5 separate regions of the Homo sapiens genome follow, and all the other regions are linked to region 1. Evidence: promoter capture Hi-C in human tissues and cell types (Jung and others, 2019). All regions are on one chromosome and are shown on one strand. The core of a region is centred on a gene start or on the middle of the fragment in contact, and the rest is flanking DNA. Distances in the headings are between cores, read along the strand shown.

Region 1 (3,684 bases), core at 327-2,826:
GGCATGAGCCACCGCGCCCGGCCAAAAGGCAGAAAGTTCTAAGAAGGAGAGGTCAACATTGGCAAATGCCACAAAGGGCACAAGATGGGAATTAAATTTTTCCATTAGATTTGGCAATTAAGCAATGGCTGATGTTGTTCAGTGGAGTGAAAGGCTGAGAAGGGAATGAGAGGTTAGGAAACATTCACCTTAAGGCTAGGCAACTCCTTTGAAAAGAGTCAAGTAGGGTTAAGGGAGGATCCATGCCCTCCAGGTTGACTTTTAAATCATATTCCCTTTGGTTTTGCATTTGAATCACAGTGAACTTTCTCCTCTCCAAATGTTGATTTGACAAATTTGAGTCTTACCATGGCTCTCTTCTCAGTCCACCTGCAGGTCAAGGAACTAATGAGGTGTGGAGTAACTAAAGGTCAAAAAACAAGAGGAAGAAACAAAGGGCCAAAAAACCCCAAACCTTAAATCAGGTCCTGAGTCAGATACGCTGTAACAAATTCTGCTTCAAGTTTAATATTCTTGTTTTGATGATGTTTAAAAAAAGAAAAATAAAAGCAAGTGTCTGGAAAATTAAAAGGCGGGGTGGGGGGGGGCATTTTAATTGGAATGCTTTCTTGTATCTCATCCACTATCCGCACCCCATCGCCCTGCAAATTAATAGCTGTTGCGGAGTTGGGGTATGTGTGACCACAAAATCCAAAGGCTGAATTTTGCCCAGTGCCTGAGTAATTGCATGCCACACACAAAAAAACAGTAGAATATTGAAAACAACATACACATCTGTATTTCCATATGAAAGCACCCGTTTCCTTTCTTGATTATCTGCTATTTTTAAAGGGGTTGGGAGTGCAGCGGGGCGGGGGGATGAGGCGTTTTTTCTGAATACGAGCCCAGCTCTTTCTAAACTTTTGTTACTCACGTCCGTTTGATTCATTTGCTGTGTTTTTTCTTTCTTTCTTTTTTTTTTTCCCCTCTCCTGCCTCTGTCATTGCCTGCTGCTAAGAGGGACGCTGAATCACAGCCACTGCAGATGAAAAGCAATTCAAACCCAGTCCTTGGAGGGGGGATGGAACGGCTCTTTTTGATTTTTTTCCCCTCTGCAGAAAAAGCCTCCTACTTTCCGGGTGACCGTAGAGGGCAGTTTGACAAGTCTCAGCCCCGGGCGATGGAAGATTTTGCCCGTGGGACCGTCACGAGCCACCGGTCATCTCCCCGCGCCCGGCTTTCGGGTCCTCAGGCCTCGGTGCGTCGCGGGCCAGGCGACAGCGGGGGGGCGTCGCGGGCCGGGCGAGCGTGGCCCGGTGGGCCCGAGGGTCGCGCCGAGCTCCCCGCCGCTTTAAAAGCTCCCACAATGCAGCGCTGGCGTCCCAGTTCCGTTACGAGGTCTCTCCCGGCGCCGGCGAGCGGGCCAGGCGCGGGCGGGGCGCGGAGGAGCGGCGGCTGAAACCCGAGCGCCCGGCCGAGGGGGGCGCCCCCGCGCCGCTCCTCTCGCGCGCTCAGCCGCTGCCCGGCGAAGGGGCGGAGCCGCCTGGCCGCCCGGCCCGGCCCGGCCCGGCCCGGCCCCCAGCCCGGCCCCCAGCCCAGAGGCACCGGCCGCGGGAGCGAGCGGGTCGCCGACTCCTACGCCCGCGCTCCTCCTACGCCCGCGCTCGTCCGGCGCCCCGCGCCGCGCCCCGCTCAGCGTCTGCCGCCCAGCTCCTCGCCCAGCCTCGCCGAGCCTCGCCCTTCCCGCCCGCGGCGGCGTTGGCGCTGGGGGCGGCTCCCGCGGCGTCTCTGCCGCTGGCCGAGCGCTCGCGCACCGCGGCACCCCCGCCAGTGGCGTCCACACTCACCTAGCGCGGGCCGGGAGGTGCGCGGAGAGGGAACGCCGGGGGGCCGGGGCCTCCAGCCGGTGCGGGGCGCGCGGCGCGGGGAGCGCCGGGGAGTGCCGGGGAGTGCGGCGCGGGGACGGGCGCTGGGCGGCCGCGGAGCTCCGGGTGCCGCCGCGTCCCCAGCGCCCCGGCCGGCCCCTCTGGGCGGCCTGCGGGGGCGGCGCAGTTGCGAAACTGAGTAAGTATTAACTTTACTTAGCGGCGGCGATCCGGGCTGCGCCGGGGACCCCGCCCGTCCCGCCTGCAGCCTCGGAGCTGCCCTCCGCCCGGTTGCCCCTCTCTCCGCACCTTGGGTACCTCGTCCGTTCCGCCCCCACCCTGCCCCGCCGCGGGCTCCCGCTCCCTCTGCGTTCACCTTTCCTGGTGTGTCACCCTTTGCGCCTCTCCTCGCGGCACACAAGCCGCGGACTGAAAAGTACGAGCTTGGTCTTTGCTTTTCTGCTTCCTCCCAGTGTCCTTGGCAAGGGAGTTTAGAGGCCACTTTTCTTGCAAAGGGAATTTTATGTCTGGTTTTTAAAATATTTTTTCCTCCGGATGGAAATCGGATGCTCGCTTGCCGGGTGGCGGTTTGGTGAACGCTTTTCTCCTCTAAAAAAATATTGGTTTATAGGTTTTTAAATTTCATTTGAACTATTAACCATCTGCATTCTATTCTCCTTTGCCGCCAGTCCCTTTGGGGAGGGGAGTCCAGAAGAGGGGACGTTCAAAGTAATTCTGACTTGCAAACTAGAAAGTTTGAGAGGGTAAATCGCACAAAGCCGGAAGATTCAACTTGAAGGGACGCGAGCTTTGAATGTGGGTCCTGGTGCGGCACTGGGTTTTAAAAGATGAGTACTTGGGTTCGGAATCCAGTGTTGCGTTGTTATTTTAGCATCATAGAGCCGCCTGGTGTTGCTAAACCACTACTTTCCCAGCCTCAAATGGCATCTTGAACAGTGCAACGTAGGATATATAATTGCGGGTCAATATTGTTGCTGATCTTTAGGGATTTAGAAGCGAAATGAATGCAAATCACGTCTCATAGCTGACTTAAACCTGTCAGGTTAGCCCTGTCAGGTTAGCATTAAAGCATTTCATTAAAAAAAAAAATCCTCTAGCCCTGTGACAGCAGGGACGAACATTTATGGATTTTCCAGTAGATTGTGGCTCAGCAATTCATTAGATCTGCTTTGTCCCCAGGAAGCATTTTAAAATATGTATAAATCTCTGCTTTTCTCTCCATTAGATTAACCACTCATTCTGGTAGGGGGCCCCAGGTAGTTTTTATTTTCTTTTTTGCCTTTCATCTTGGAGTTGCCAGGAGTTGCCATCATGTTATGAAGGAACAGAAAATGAGAAGCTTTCTTAATGGGTTTTCGACATCCTGTCCTTTGCCAGAGTGAGGCGGTAGTGAATGCCAGCCAGCTTTCTGCAGGGAGAGGTGCAGGGTGGACGCAAAAATCAGGACGCAGGAGACAGCACTATCATTTGGGGAAGTGGTTTGTGTGAGTTTTATCTTTTAGCGGGCATACTAATGGTACTTTTAATTTTATTTATCTCTATGAGGCACACTCCCCAAACCATAAAATTACACATGACCATCCCCCACTTGAAGAAGACTGAACATAGTTTGATGATTATTCTATTCAAGGATCAAGTACAACAAAATATAATTTGTAATACAGATGATAAAACCTTTCAAAAATCTCCCCCTTCCTCATTTTTTTCCTCAAGAGTCTCCAGGTGGTACTTTCTGTGATGGACACAATTGGCAGTAATGCACTGAGTTCTTTCTAGGTTTATTGATCAAATCTTATGTCTGGGCTTTAGTAGCTTAGGG
Region 2 (3,684 bases), core at 580-3,079, 200 kb before region 1:
ATTAAAAGAAAAAAATTGTCAACATAGAATTTGTTAGCCAGTGAAAATATTTTATAGAAACAAAGATGAAATAAAGACTTTTTCAGGCACATAAAAGAAGAATTAATAACCAGACCACATATCTATAAAATATGTCAAGAGGAACCCTTCAAGCAAAATGAAATGATACTGATAAAAACCTGGACATACAAAAAAGAAAAAGAAGACCACTAAAAGTGGTAACTGTCTTGTAAATATAAAGAACGTTTTTCTTGGCAGGGCGTGGTGGCTCACACCTGTAATCCCAGCACTTTGGGAGGCCGAGGCGGGCAGATCACGAGGTCAGGAGATCAAGACCATCCTGGCCAACATGGTGAAACCACGTCTCTACTAAAAATACAAAAATTAGCTGGGTGTGGTAGCGTGTGCCTGTAGTCCCAGCTACTTGGGAGGCTGAGGCAGGAGAATTGCTTGAAGCCGGGAGGTGGAGGTTGCAGTGAGCCAAGATTGCGCCACTGCACTCCAGCCTGGGCAACAGAGTGAGACTCCATTTCAAACAAAACAAAACAAAAATAATAAGTTAATCAACAGATTGAAGCAAAATATTACTAATGCATCATGGAGTTTATAACCCATAGAGAAGTAAAATGTATGAAGACAATGGCACAAAGACCAGGAGAGGAGAAAAGGAAGTGTATTTTGTAGGGGTCTTATACTTGAAGTAATGTAACAGTGCTTGAAGTTAAACTGTGATAAACTAAAGATGTATAGTATAATCCCCCAAACAATAACTACACTAACACAAAAAATTATTTATAGCTAATGCACAAACAATGGAGATGAACTAGAATCATAAAAAACACTGGAGAAAGAGAAAATGGAAGAAGAACGTATGTGACAATAGAAAATAAATAGTAAGATGGTAGATTGTAATAATCACATTGAATGTAAAAGGTCTGAACATACCAACTAAAGGCAGAGCTTCTCAGATTAAATAAAACTGACCTAATTATATGCTTCGTTAGAAGATACAAATAAGTTCAAAGTAAAGGATACAAAAAGATATAGTGTACTAATGTGAATAAAAAGAAGGCTGGAGTAGCTACATTAACATCAGAGTAAACAATGTAACAGGGATAAAGAGAGGCATTTCATAATGAAAAAGAGGGTAAATTCATCAGGAGGATATAACATTCTTAAACATTAAGACCTCCAATAACAGATCTTCAAAATATCTGAATCAGAAATAGATGGAACTGCAAGAAGAAAGAGATAAATCCACAATTACAATTAGATGTTGTTTATGAACTCTAATAGTTTTTTGTGGGTTACTTAGGTGGACAATTGATTGACAAGTGTGTAAAGGCAACCCAGTGGATAAAATAGAGTTTTTTTCCACAAATGGTTTTGGAAAAATGGAACATTAGCATCCAAAAACAAAGCAAAACAAAAACTCCAATCCATTCCTCATACAACATGTACAAAACCAAAAAAACAGTCCAATGGACTTCATCAAAATTAAACATTTTTACTCTCTGAAAGACACTGTGAAGAAAATGAAAGGATAAATCACCAACTGGGTAACAATGTCTTCACATGACATATCTGGTAACGAACTCATATCTCAAATATTTAAGGAACTCTCTAACAACCCAATGCCTTGAAAATGGGCAAAAGATTTGAACAGACATTCCTCAAAGAAAATACACAAGTGGCAAATAAGCACATGAAAAGATACTCAATAGCATTCGTCATTGAGGAATGGAAATTTTTAAAAATGAGATACCACTACACAACTAGTAAAATGAATAAAATTAACAAGACTTAGCATACCAAGTATTGACAAGGATGTGGAAGAACTGCAACCCTTATATCCTGCTTGTGAGACTATAGCATGGTACAATTCCTTTGGAAAACAGTCTGAAGTTTCTTCAAAAGTTAAACACACATCTACTATATGATTCAGCTTTTCTACTTCTATGTGTTTAAGAGAAATGAAAGCATATATGTATACAAAAACTTACACATGAATGTCATAGCAGCTTTATTATAAAAGCCAAGTACCAGAGACAATCTAAATGTTTCTTAATGTGTTAATGGATATGAAAATAATAGTATATCCATAAAATGGAATCTAGTCAGCAATGAAAAAGAATGAACTATATATGCAACTGCATGGATGGACCTCAAAATAATTATGTTGGGTGAAAGAAGCCAGAACACGAAGAATACATACTTTATGTTATTCAGTTCAAACTACTGTAACCAGTTACCATAGACTGGTTGTCTTAAACAATGAACATTTATTTGTTACAGTTCTGGAGGCTATGAAGTCTAAGATTAAGGTGCCATGAGATCTGATGTCTTGAGAGGGCCCATTTACTGACTTGCAGATGGCTGTCTTCATATTGCCTCTTCACTCATAGAAAACAGAGCAGAGAGAGCAAGCTTTCGTATCTCCTCTGATTCAAACATTGATCCCATTATCTAATTACTTCCCAAAAGCCCCCGTTCCCAATACTATCACACTGGGGATCGGGATTTCAACCTATAAATTTGAGGGGAACACAAACATTCAGTATATAACATACTATATAATTCCATTTATAAAATATTCTAGAAAACGTAAACAAATCTATGGTTGCAGAAAGCAAACAAAAGTTCCCTGGGAATAAGGTTAAGGAAGAATGGAATAGAAGACTTACAAAGTGATATAAAGAAATTTGGGGGGGTTTGATGGATGTGTTCATTATCTTGGCTGGGATGATGGTTTCACAGATGTATAAATAGGTGTCATTAAATTATCCACTTTAAACATGTGTGATTTATTGTAAATTAATATTTTCAATAAAGCTATAAACAAAGTAGGATCCTATTTGTTAGAAATAAAACATTTTATAATCGCATTACGCAGCACTTTTCTAAGCATGTTACTCAGAAGTAATGTCCCACAGATTTTAATATGTTTTACTGAAAAAGAAAATTCTGTGGTTTAATAATTGAAATAGTCTGGATTAAACGCAGTTAATAGATTTGTTTTGGGCAGGACTTCTGGGAGATTTTAATATGCCAATATGCATTGTGAAATTTCAATAAGGGAATATTATTGAGTACTGTATTTCCCTAATTTGATCAGAAATTTTCTTCCAAGATGATTTTACAGGATTAACATTCCTCGGGTTTTTTATTTGGAAAATGCTGGCATAAAGACATTGTGATGACTTAACAGTAAATACAGTCGATGTGGTAAGAACTTTGGACTCTTTTTTCATGAACTATTAAAATTTATGACTAGGCTGAGTGTGGTGGCTTGCACCTGTAATTCCAACACTTTGGAAGGCTGAGGTGGGAGGATTGCTTGAGCCCAGGAGTTCAAGGCCAGCCTGGGCAACATGGGGACACCCTGTCTCTACAAAAAAACAACAATATGACTTACGATTAGACAATATAATCTTCATCTAAATTCAAGCATTGGAGCAAATTGCAAATTTTAGAAAGACTTTAAAAATGTGTTCACTAAATTAGTAACTGATTGCTCTCCAGTGAATGTTTTGCATGGGATCTTTTTTCTTTTTTTAATTAATAGACTTCTTTTTTTTTTCTTTCAGCAGTTTTAGGCTTACAGAAGAAATGAGTAGAAAAGTAAAAAGAATTCTTTTATCTCCTTTACCCCTTCCCCGATTTCCTCTATTTATTAACACCTTG
Region 3 (3,684 bases), core at 463-2,962, 180 kb before region 1:
GCCAGGTGTGGTGGCTCACATCTCTAATCCCAGCACTTTGGGAGGCTGAGGTGGGAGGATTGCTTGAGCCCAGGAGTTTGAAACCAGCTTGAACAACATAGTAAGACCCCATCTTTCCAAACACTTTAAAAATTAGCCAGGTGTGGTGGCGCACACACATGGTCCCAGCTACTTGGGAGGCTGAGGCAGGAAGATTGCTTGAGCCTGGGAGATAGAGGCTGCAGTGAGCTGTTATTGCACCACTGCACTCCAGCCAGGGCAACAGAGTGAGACTCTTGTCTCAAAAAAAAAGTATATGTTATTTGGTGTTGCGTTTACACATAGGTAAATTATACATATATAATAAAATATATACATATTAATTTACATACACATATATCTTGTTGGGAGGTCCTAGCCGGAGAGCACAAAGACTTATATACCCTTGACTGAAAAATGATCCTCCTCTATCAGGGAAGGCCATCCTTTTTGACCAAGCAGCCTCAGGAGAGATGCACATGGAGCTGTGAGAAAGGGGACACCCACCTAGCCGGCCAGATCAGCCAAATCAACCCTGGCCATCAATCGGGTGACAGATGTCTCAGCCAGATGACCCTCACATCCACATACACATACATCTTTCCATACATTCATATGAAATAATGTAACCATACAATATACGCACAATTTTTTTTCCTTCTCTTTGGTCAAAAACTGTATTCCTTCCAGATACTAATATGGTACTAGAGGAAGCTAAATGCTCTTTTTTCAATGACCCCTGCAGCCTGAGAGCAAATTAGTGTTGTTCACAGATGCTTTTTGTGTGCATATTTAGTTAGTGCAATTACTTTTGTACCAATCTAATAGTATTTTCCAGAACATAACTTGGAGCAGGTCAGGAGATGGAAATAAAGGAAGGGCACACACTCTCTTGAGTATTTCTTTATATGTACAGCTTCAGCCTCCATAGATGTTAGGTGTGAATGTTTTTCTCCACTGCATTTAGATTATGTCAAAGGGAGTCAAAGTTAATAAACACAGACTGTGAGAAAGTCAATCTCTTTTTGAACATAAGTGCAGAAACCATTTCATCCCTAGTTCCTGGCTCAGTACCTACCACATAATCAGCACTCAATAAATATAGATTAAGTGACTGACTGGATGAATGAATATAGTGCAATTTTGGTCCAGGTAAAAATGAAAAGTGGAGAGGGAGAAATTGTTCTTTATTTTCAGAGACGCATGGCTATGTATTCTGAAGACAGACAAGAGAATCTGGTAGCCTGGAAATTGACAATCATGAAAAAAAGGAACTCAACAAGTTTTCCATTAGGGACTCAGCATCGTGATCTGGTTTCGGAAGCCTAGATATTGGCTGAGATCAAATAAAGAAGTTCAGGAGAGATGAGTGACTCTAAACATACTCCTATTCCTTAACCAGTAAGCTTGCAAACCATTGAAAATTTTGTGCTTAACTGTGGCCTCAGTCTACAGAGAAAGCTCCAGGCTCCACAGAAAATGTGTAAGAAATGGGTCTTGTAATGACAGTCTGGTATTATCAATATTCCACTGATCACAGTGACCTTACCTTGTATTAATGATTGCTTAGGGTGAATGACATACTAAAGTTCAATAAAAACATCTTCCATGTATAAACGTCATTGGGAGCTACTACCACCTTTAAAGAAAGTGTCATTCAGCAATCTAACCCTTGTAGTCTTTCTGGAAGTGGGTGGCCACTTAGGACTATCTGGACACAGGAAGCTTAGGATGCAATTGACCAGGCAGCTCTTTAGAAAATAGAAATCCAGCCGACCTTCCTGATCTCCACTGACTCTGCATTTGTTTAGACTGATGCATTTGCATACATTACGTGCAGCCTACTTTTTTCCCCCTAACTTGGTAATAAAAACATGGCAAGATGGAAAACACACCACGTTCATGCATTTTAATGTCCTAATATTTGTTAACTTGGAATGAAATATAAAATATATCTGGTTTTAGCACCCTAGCAAGCTGAATGCTTTGGCCATCTGTTCATTTCTTGCTTTTCTACATCTTAGCCATTTCACTTCTGCTTCTAATTGTAACTGCCACTTTTATGCTGATGCCACAAATCCTGAGACCTTTTTAATGCCACTTTCAGGCCTCCTTGGCTCATCTAAAACGATGGCTTAATCTCAATTGCTTTTAAATTTATTTTAAACCCAAGGGGTTGATCTAAATAAACAGGTATTCTTGAATAATACAATTCCATTTTCTTTATCTGACTTCTTGTTTTATTTTTCACATTGGCTACCCCAGTCCATGGCCTGTTCCTCAGGACTGTATCATTTTTCTTTCAATGTCTTACTCTCTCCATTCCATCGCAGCTGAAGCTTTCAATCACATTATCTTATTGCACATTATAATTTTGCTTTCACACTGCCATGTACTCTGTTTAATTAAATAATTTGTTGACACACTCAGATTTCTATTTACCCTCGTCTGGGAGTTCCAGCCAAGATAATTACATCCCGGGCTTCAGGACCTCCCTACGGTAAAATGTTGAAGTAGGGAACATTTGTCTTTAGCTGTCTCTCACAGGATTTATCAACTTGGTATCTTCTCTTCTCCCCTCACTTTCCCTCCTCCCTCCTTCCCAACATGTGAAGTGATTATCCATTTTGGCTCTTCCCATCCATTCCTGATTTTAAATAGTTTTCCCTATTATCTTTAAACCTAATTGTAAGTCTATGTCTCTATCCGGCTTAATAATAGAATAAAATTTGCAAAACTCCAATCCTCTTATTCCCACTAAAATATATTAGTAAATAAGAAAACTATTGGTTCTTAAGCATTTGAGCTAGTTCAACCATGTTGAGGGAAAAAAGTACTTACCAAGTGCTAACTATATTCAAGGCACCACAGTAGGTGCTAGGAGTGTGGCAAGGGATAAGGCGCCAGTCCCTGAACTCCCAAAGTGTGGAGTCTCTTAAAGAAAACAGACACAGGCCAGGCACAGTGGCTCATGCCTGTAATCCCAGCAGTTTGGGAGGCTGAGGTGGGCAGATCACCTGAGGTCAAGGATTTGAGACCAGCCTGGCCAACATGGTGAAACCTCGACTTTACCAAAAAATACAAAAATTAGCCGGGTGTGGTGGCGTGTGCCTGTATTCCTAGCCACTGGGGAGGCTGAGTTGGGAGAATCGCTTAAACCCGTGAGGTGGAGGTTGCAGTGAGCTAAGATCATACCACTGCACACCAGCCTGGGCCACAGAGCAAGACTCTATCTAAAAAAAAAAAAAAAAAAAAAAAAAGAAAAAGAAAAGAAAAGAAAACTGACACAGACAACGAATATTACAATACTGCCTGATGAGTTCCATGACAACACATACACCAACTTTGGACGCATAGACAATGGGCAACTACCCTCAGCCACCCTCCATTCATCTATCTAGTCTGTTTTCTTTTTGAAGTAGGTATTGTTTTATTAAGACTTTAATGAATAGCAATTGTTAACAGTTATTGAGAAAATATTATATGCCAGGGATTAATCTAAATATATTTCATATATTAACTCATCTAATTCTCATAAATTACCCCAGTAAGTTGATGCTTATACCCTCATTTTATAGATAATAAAACCAAGGCACAGAAAGACTAAATTGCTTTCTCAAAGTTAGACAGTGAGGGTTAAAGATATAACTCAACTTCAGTCCAGAT
Region 4 (3,684 bases), core at 476-2,975, 150 kb before region 1:
GCATTACATTATATACATACATATACATATATATTGCTACATATACATGTATATACATATACGGTTACATATATTACATTATACATACACATATATATATGGCTTCCCCCACACCCCGCACCATGCTCTACGTGGTATCTTCCACACACTCTACCTTACGTTTATTCCCAGCTAAAGAGTATTAGTGCATCATATTGCAAAGGCACTCTGCCAAAAAGGACTCTACCACATTTTCCTGAGTTGTGTGAGTTCTAAAACACACATTGTTTACTTGGCTGTGGCTGTTCTTCCTATTTATTTTGTATTATGGTGAGCAGTTTTGACCCATCATGTAGGATAAAAAGTCAACAGGTGAGGTCTCTGGGGTTGTCTTACCGCAGTGAGTACCACGCGGTACTACAGAGACCGGCTGCCCGTGTGCCTGGCAGGTGGAGCTGCCCGCATCAGCGGCCTCGGGGAATGGAAGCGGAGAACGCGGGCAGCTACTCCCTTCAGCAAGCTCAAGCTTTTTATACGTTTCCATTTCAACAACTGATGGCTGAAGCTCCTAATATGGCAGTTGTGAATGAACAGCAAATGCCAGAAGAAGTTCCAGCCCCAGCTCCTGCTCAGGAACCAGTGCAAGAGGCTCCAAAAGGAAGAAAAAGAAAACCCAGAACAACAGAACCAAAACAACCAGTGGAACCCAAAAAACCTGTTGAGTCAAAAAAATCTAGCAAGTCTGCAAAATCAAAAGAAAAGCAAGAAAAATTACAGACACATTTAAAGTCAAAAGAAAAGTAGACCGTTTTAATGGTGTTTCAGAAGCTGAACTTCTGACCAAGACTCTCCCCGATATTTTGACCTTCAATCTGGACATTGTCATTATTGGCATAAACCCGGGTCTAATGGCTGCTTACAAAGGGCATCATTACCCTGGACCTGGAAACCATTTTTGGAAGTGTTTGTTTATGTCAGGGCTCAGTGAGGTCCAGGTGAACCATATGGATGATCACACTCTACCAGGGAAGTATGGTATTGGATTTACCAACATGGTGGAAAGGACCACGCCTGGCAGCAAAGATCTCTCCAGTAAAGAATTTCGTGAAGGAGGACGTATTCTAGTACAGAAATTATAGAAATATCAGCCACGAATAGCAGTGTTTAATGGAAAATGTATTTATGAAATTTTTAGTAAAGAAGTTTTTGGTGTAAAGGTTAAGAACTTGGAATTTGGGCTTCAGCCCCATAAGATTCCAGGCACAGAAACTCTCTGCTATGTTATGCCGTCATCCAGTGCAAGAAGTGCTCAGTTTCCTCGGGCCCAAGACAAAGTTCATTACTACATAAAACTGAAAGACTTAAGAGATCAGTTGAGAGGCATTGAACGAAATACGGACGTTCAAGAGGTGCAATATACATTTGACCTACAGCTTGCCCAAGAAGATGCAAAGAAGATGGCTGTTAAGGAAGAAAAATATGATCTGGGTTATGAGGCAGCATATGGTGGTGCTTACGGAGAAAATCCATGCGACAGTGAACCTTGCAGCTTCTCTTCAAATGGGCTAATTGAGAGCCTGGAGTTAAGAGGAGAATCAACTTTCAGTGGCATTCCTAATGAGCAGTGGATGACCCAGTCATTTACAGACCAAATTCCTTCCTTTAATAATCACTGTGGAACACAAGAACAGGAAGAAGAAAGCCATGCTTAAGAACGGTGCTTCTCAGCTCTGCTTAAATGCTGCAGTTTTAATGCAGTTGTCAACAAGTAGAACCTCAGCTTGCTAACTGAAGTGTTTTATTAGTATTTTACTCTAGTGGTGTAATTGTAATGTAGAACAGTTGTGTGGTAGTGTGAACCGTATGAACCTAAGTAGTTTGGAAGAAAAAGTAGGGTTGTTGTATACTAGCTTTTGTATTTGAATTAATCATCATTCCAGCTTTTTATATACTATGTTTCATTTATGAAGAAATTGATTTTCTTTTGGGAGTCACTTTTGATCTGTAATTTTAAAATACAAGTCTGAATATTTGTAGTTGATTCTTAACTGTGCATAAACCTAGATATACCATTATCCCTTTTATACCTAAGAAGGGCATGCTAATAATTACCACTGTCAAAGAGGCAAAGGTGTTGATTTTTGTATATGAAGTTAAGCCTCAGCAGAGTCTCATTTGTTAGTTTTTAGTGGTAACTAAGGGTAAACTCAGGGTTTCCTGAGCTATATGCACACTCAGACCTCTTTGCTTTACCAGTGGTGTTTGTGGGTTGCTCAGTAGTAAAAACTGGCCCTTACCTGACAGAGCCCTGGCTTTGACCTGCTCAGCCCTGTGTGTTAATCCTCTAGTAGCTAGTAACTACTCTGGGGTGGCAGGTTCCAGAGAATGCAGTAGACCTTTTGCCACTCATCTATGTTTTACTTGAGACACGTAAATATGATAGGGAAGGAACTGAATTTCTCCATTCATATTTATAACCATTCTAGTTTTATCTTCCTTGGCTTTAAGAATGTGCCATGGAAAGTGATAAGAAATGAACTTTTAGGCTAAGCAAAAAGATGCTGGAGATATTTGATAATCTCATTTAAACTGGTGCTTTATGTACATGAGATGTACTAAAATAAGTAATATAGAGTTTTTCTTGCTAGGTAAATCCAGTAAGCCAATAATTTTAAAGATTCTTTATCTGCATCACTGCTGTTTTTTACTATAATTAAATGAACCTCATGGAAAGGTTGAGGTATATACCTTTGTGATTTTCTAATGAGTTTTCCATGGTGCTACAAATAATCCAGACTACCAGGCCTGGTAGATATTAAAGCTGGGTACTAAGAAATGTCATTTGCATCCTCTCAGTTACTCCTGAATATTCTGATTTCATACATACCCAGGGAGCATGCTGTTTTGTCAATCAATATAAAATATTTATGAGGTCTCCCCCACCCCCAGGAGGTTTTATGATTGCTCTTCTCTTTATAATAAGAGAAACAAATTCTTGTTGTGAATCTTAACATGCTTTTTAGCTGTGGCTATGATGGATTTTATTTTTTCCTAGGTCAAGCTGTGTAAAAGTCATTTATGTTATTTAAATGATGCACTGTACTGCTGTTTACATGGACGTTTTGTGCGGGTGCTTTGAAGTGCCTTGCATCAGGGATTAGGAGCAATTAAATTATTTTTTCACGGGACCGTGTAAAGCATGTAACTAGGTATTGCTTTGGTATATAACTGTTGTAGCTTTACAAGAGATTGTTTTATTTGAATGGGGAAAATACCGTTTAAATTATGACAGACATCCACTAGAGATGGGTTTGAGGATTTTCCAAGCGTGTAATAATGATGTTTTTCCTAACATGACAGATGAGTAGTAAATGTTGATATATCCTGTACATGACAGTGTGAGACTTTTTCATTAAATAATATTGAAAGATTTTAAAATTCAAAAAAAAAAAAACAAAAAAGTCAAAAGGTATCCACATGATACTTACACTCAAAAAAGGTGGCAAAGGAAGTAAGCAGACCACAAGATGTCTTTAAGGAAATGACTAAGAAACCAGAAAGTAGAGATCAGGAACATTTAGTGATTTTTGGCCATCCCCTGACCTTCCTAAACATCATAACGTCACTGCATGCTGGGGGACTGACCTGCAAAGGGAGCTTGTCAACTTTGATGATCTAGAGAACACCTCATTGGGGCTCTCCTGG
Region 5 (3,684 bases), core at 697-3,196, 130 kb after region 1:
TGAGATGCTGGTAGGATCTGCATTGAGATCTCCAGAAAGGGTTTGAATTTGCATATCTGAACTTTGACAAAGAAACAAAGCTGAAGACAGACATATAGAAACTAACTGCACAGAGACAATAGTTGAAAATGTAGAACTCCCCGCACCCCGCCAACACCATCCCAAATGCATACAAATATATATGTATATGTATTCTTTATTTTTAAAATTTTATTTATTGATTGATTGATTTTGAGACGGAGTTTCACTCTTGTTGCCCAGGCTGGAGTGCAATGGCATGATCTCAGCTCACTGCAACCTCCGCCTCCCAGGTTCAAGCAATTCTCCTGCATCGGCCTCCTGAGTAGCTGGGATTACAGGTATAAGCCACCATGCCCAGCTAATCTTGTAATTTTTTATTTTTATTTTTATTTTGAGATGGAGTCTCGCTCCGTCACCAGGCTGGAGTGCAGTGGCGCGATCTCAGCTCACTGCAACCTCTGCTTCCTTAGTTCAAGCAATTCTCCTGCTTCAGCCTCCTGAGTAGCTGGCATTACAGGCATGTGCCACTACGCCCAGCTAATTTTTGTATTTTTAGTAGAGATGGGGTTTCACCATGTTGGTCAGGCTGGTTTCGATCTCGTGACCTTGTGATCCGCCTGCCTCGGCCTCCCAAAGTGCTGGGATTACAGGTGCGAGCCACCTCGCCCAGTCCTCAAATACATACAAATATATTTAAAAATGAAGACGAGGTAAACTTTCTCAGAAATCTAAGCATTTATTACCCAGGATGGTCATAGGACCAGCAGCCTTGGTGTTGCCTGGGGGTTGGTTGGAAATGTAGAGCCTCAGGCCCCACTTACTGAGCTAGAATATATATTTTAGTGAGATTCCATGTTACTTACATGCACATTCAAGTTGCAGAAGTGCTGGTGTCATCCAAGAAGAGGGCCAAGGACAGGAGCATCTACAATTACATAGATGGAATATCTACAATTATGACACCCACAGGTAGAAGAGGCCAGAGAAGGAGACCAGGAGGAATTAGAAGCTAAAAGCACTGGGAGAAGAGTTAGTGTCTTCATCTGTTTGGACTGCTATAACAAAAAATGCCATTAATCGGGTAGCTTATAAACAACTGAAATTTATTTCTCACAGTTCTGGAGGCTGGGAAATTCAAGATCAAAGTGCCAGCAGATTTGGTGTCTGGTGACGGCCCATTCATCTTAGACGTCACCTTCTTGCTGTGGCCTCACACGATGAAAGGGGCAAACAAGCTCCCTTGGGCCACCCCCCATGACATAACCACCTCCGAAAAGGCCTCCCCTCTTAACACCATCACCTACGGGGCTAGGATTTCAACAGATGAATTTTGGGTGACACAAACATTCAGACCATAGCAGTCACTATCTAACAACAGGTGGATGGGACGTTTGTCTAAACCGAATTGTACTTCGGTAACAGGATCATATAAGGACAAATTTAACCAATGTCTTTTTTAGTTTTTAGTTTCTTTTGTTTTGGTTTTAGCAACTCTAGATTTTCTAGAGACTATCAACATTACCTTTCTTTGCTCTCCAGCCCCCATGCCCAGAAAAGAAATAAGATTATTAGGGAGTCAAGTATCTCGGCTCTTCTTACCTCTTAGGGTAGTAAATTGCTTTTTGTATGCGAGTGGTTTTGCGTATGTGAAGATAATTTTGAGATAGGAGTAGAATGCCCTGAAGATAATGCTTATGTTTTAAAGATAATAAGCCAACACAGTGAACGGAATAAGCTGCACTGGACCTGAGGAGTGAGGTTAAATAGGGAAGTAAGACACCACCTGGAGACAGTATTGCTCAAGACTGAAAGTGGATGAGGGTTGCAAAGCTGTTTGCACAGTGCTTCTGAAGCATCATGGCAGCCTGGGGAATTTCCCATGCTGAGCTTGCCTGGAGTATGTGTGTGTATGCATGCATGTGTATGTGCATTCGTTTGTGTGTGAAGGAAGGGGAGCAGAGCTGCTGGCTTAGTCAGCTACCTTTGAATGCTTCTCCCTCAACAGGGGCTGAGAACCAGACCCCTTGCCTTTGTCCCTGAATTATATTAGCTCAGGGGTTCTTATGCCATCCAAAGATAAGGACATAAGAAGAATAGGGAAAGTGCCAAAAATTAACTGATATTGTATTTAATTAAGAAAAAAATAAATATAATATTTATAATATTTAAGTTTGAGTGTTGTGGAGAGATATATGCCTGTTTCATTTAGCTTCTGGCATACCCTTTATTGCCAGAGTTGCTTCATTTCTGATAGATTTTTATTGGAAGTAGTTTCCAATAGGTTGACTTCATGTTTGTTTAAACTCCCCATTTCCTGACTCTATCAGGCACTTTAAGAGAAAGCAAATAGTAAATTAGAAAGTAGAAAGGAGTCTGGAGGCCCAGCAGTTCCAAATCATCTTTATTCCATAATAGCCATCAAACACTGGGCAAGGCACTGAGTCTCTCTGGGCCTTAGTTCCTACTTTTGTAAAATAAAGAGCTAAGGTGAGTTCATTTCTGTCTTTTCCAGCACTAGCACTCCACAATTCTCTGATATGTATTAAGGACAATGAATACAGAAAGGTTTGAAAATCACGCAGATGAAGAACAGAAATAACAAACATGGCTGCAACTTAAATTTGTCAGTCAATTCAATTTCTTCAAAGTTTTTTACTAAGCATTGTCCACAGTATGGGCAGCCAGGGAAACAGAGAACAATGAAGAGGTAACAGATGGAAGAAGGTCAATAACTCCGAACACAGCTCCCTAGTGTGGGGATCCAGTGTCCCCACTGTGTAGCTGGACTGGCCTCCTCCCCTCAGGCTTCTTTCATGGTGGCAGGGTGCTCTTGCACATCGGGCTGCCTGTTGCTCTTAAGGACTGATCCTGCATGGAGAGGCCTCTGTGTCTCCAATCGTCAGCCTGTCCTACTGGTTTTAGCTAAAAAGTCTTACCTGGGCCGGACACAGTGGCTAACTCCTGTAATCCCAGCACTGTGGGAGGCCGAGGCAGGTGGATCACGAGGTCAAGCGATCGAGATCATCATTTTTGTACAAAAATTCAAAAATTAGCCAGGCGTGGTGGCAGGCACCTGTAGTCCCAGCTACTCAGGAGGCTGAGGCAGGAGAATCACTTGAACCCAGGAGGTGGAGGTTGCAGTGAGCTGAGATTGCACCACTGCACTCCAGCCTGGCGACAGAGCAAGACTCTGTCTTAAAAAAAAAAAAAAAAAAAAAAAGTCTTACCTAACAACCTCCCTTCCCTTCCCACCAGATTAGGTTCACCTATTAAATGCTAATAGCATTCTTTGCTTTCTGTCACACAGTTATGTAATTATACAGTGATTTTTCTGGTTATTTGATACCTATCTGTAAGCAGCACAAGGGCAGGGACCATGTTTGTTTTGTTCACTGCTCAATTCCTAGAACCTATTACAGGCCCTGGCATATAATATGCCTTCAGAAAATTTGAATTCAATGAAAAGGCGAATGTATGAGTCCCATCTTGCATATAAGAAGACAAAAACTCTTTGCCCAAGTCAAATTACTCACAAGTGAGACAACAGGAACACGAATCTGTTCTCACTGGCTCCGCAGCCTATCCATTCTCCATTCCTGGTGGCCTCCTCTTCTGTCTCCTAGACTTCGGTCTCCTGGCAACAGCACTGGTGCTAGGGGAGGC

The links. The method cuts DNA at HindIII sites, captures the fragments that hold promoters and counts their contacts. A contact is called where the count stands out against the background at its distance.
Region 2: a contact is called between a fragment that was not itself captured here and the fragment with the promoter of RASSF8 in region 1, in 1 of the 25 tissues and cell types used here (IMR-90 fibroblasts).
Region 3: a contact is called between a fragment that was not itself captured here and the fragment with the promoter of RASSF8 in region 1, in 2 of the 25 tissues and cell types used here (IMR-90 fibroblasts and hippocampus).
Region 4: a contact is called between a fragment that was not itself captured here and the fragment with the promoter of RASSF8 in region 1, in 2 of the 25 tissues and cell types used here (adrenal gland and thymus).
Region 5: a contact is called between a fragment that was not itself captured here and the fragment with the promoter of RASSF8 in region 1, in 2 of the 25 tissues and cell types used here (hippocampus and stomach).

The regions. Positions count from the first base shown.
Region 1 is chr12:25,957,106-25,960,789 of GRCh38, forward strand. It overlaps RASSF8 (Ras association domain family member 8), which reads left to right and starts at 1,577. Exons shown (of 6, transcript NM_001394098.1): 1 at 1,577-2,043. RASSF8-AS1 (RASSF8 antisense RNA 1) reads right to left here and starts at 2,337. Exons shown (of 4, transcript NR_038228.1): 1 at 2,221-2,337. RefSeq lists silencers at 1,189-1,678, 1,779-1,878, 1,949-1,998, 2,139-2,188. The HindIII fragment of the contact is 6,427 bases long and covers 1-3,684 here.
Region 2 is chr12:25,758,327-25,762,010 of GRCh38, forward strand. No RefSeq gene overlaps it. Among named protein-coding and RNA genes, the nearest start is that of MIR4302, 110 kb to the right of the region's middle. The HindIII fragment of the contact is 6,950 bases long and covers 1-3,684 here.
Region 3 is chr12:25,778,967-25,782,650 of GRCh38, forward strand. It overlaps the pseudogene RN7SKP262. Among named protein-coding and RNA genes, the nearest start is that of MIR4302, 93 kb to the right of the region's middle. The HindIII fragment of the contact is 5,223 bases long and covers 1-3,684 here.
Region 4 is chr12:25,802,839-25,806,522 of GRCh38, forward strand. It overlaps the pseudogene TDGP1. Among named protein-coding and RNA genes, the nearest start is that of MIR4302, 69 kb to the right of the region's middle. The HindIII fragment of the contact is 6,268 bases long and covers 1-3,684 here.
Region 5 is chr12:26,087,325-26,091,008 of GRCh38, forward strand. No RefSeq gene overlaps it. Among named protein-coding and RNA genes, the nearest start is that of BHLHE41, 36 kb to the right of the region's middle. The HindIII fragment of the contact is 6,648 bases long and covers 1-3,684 here.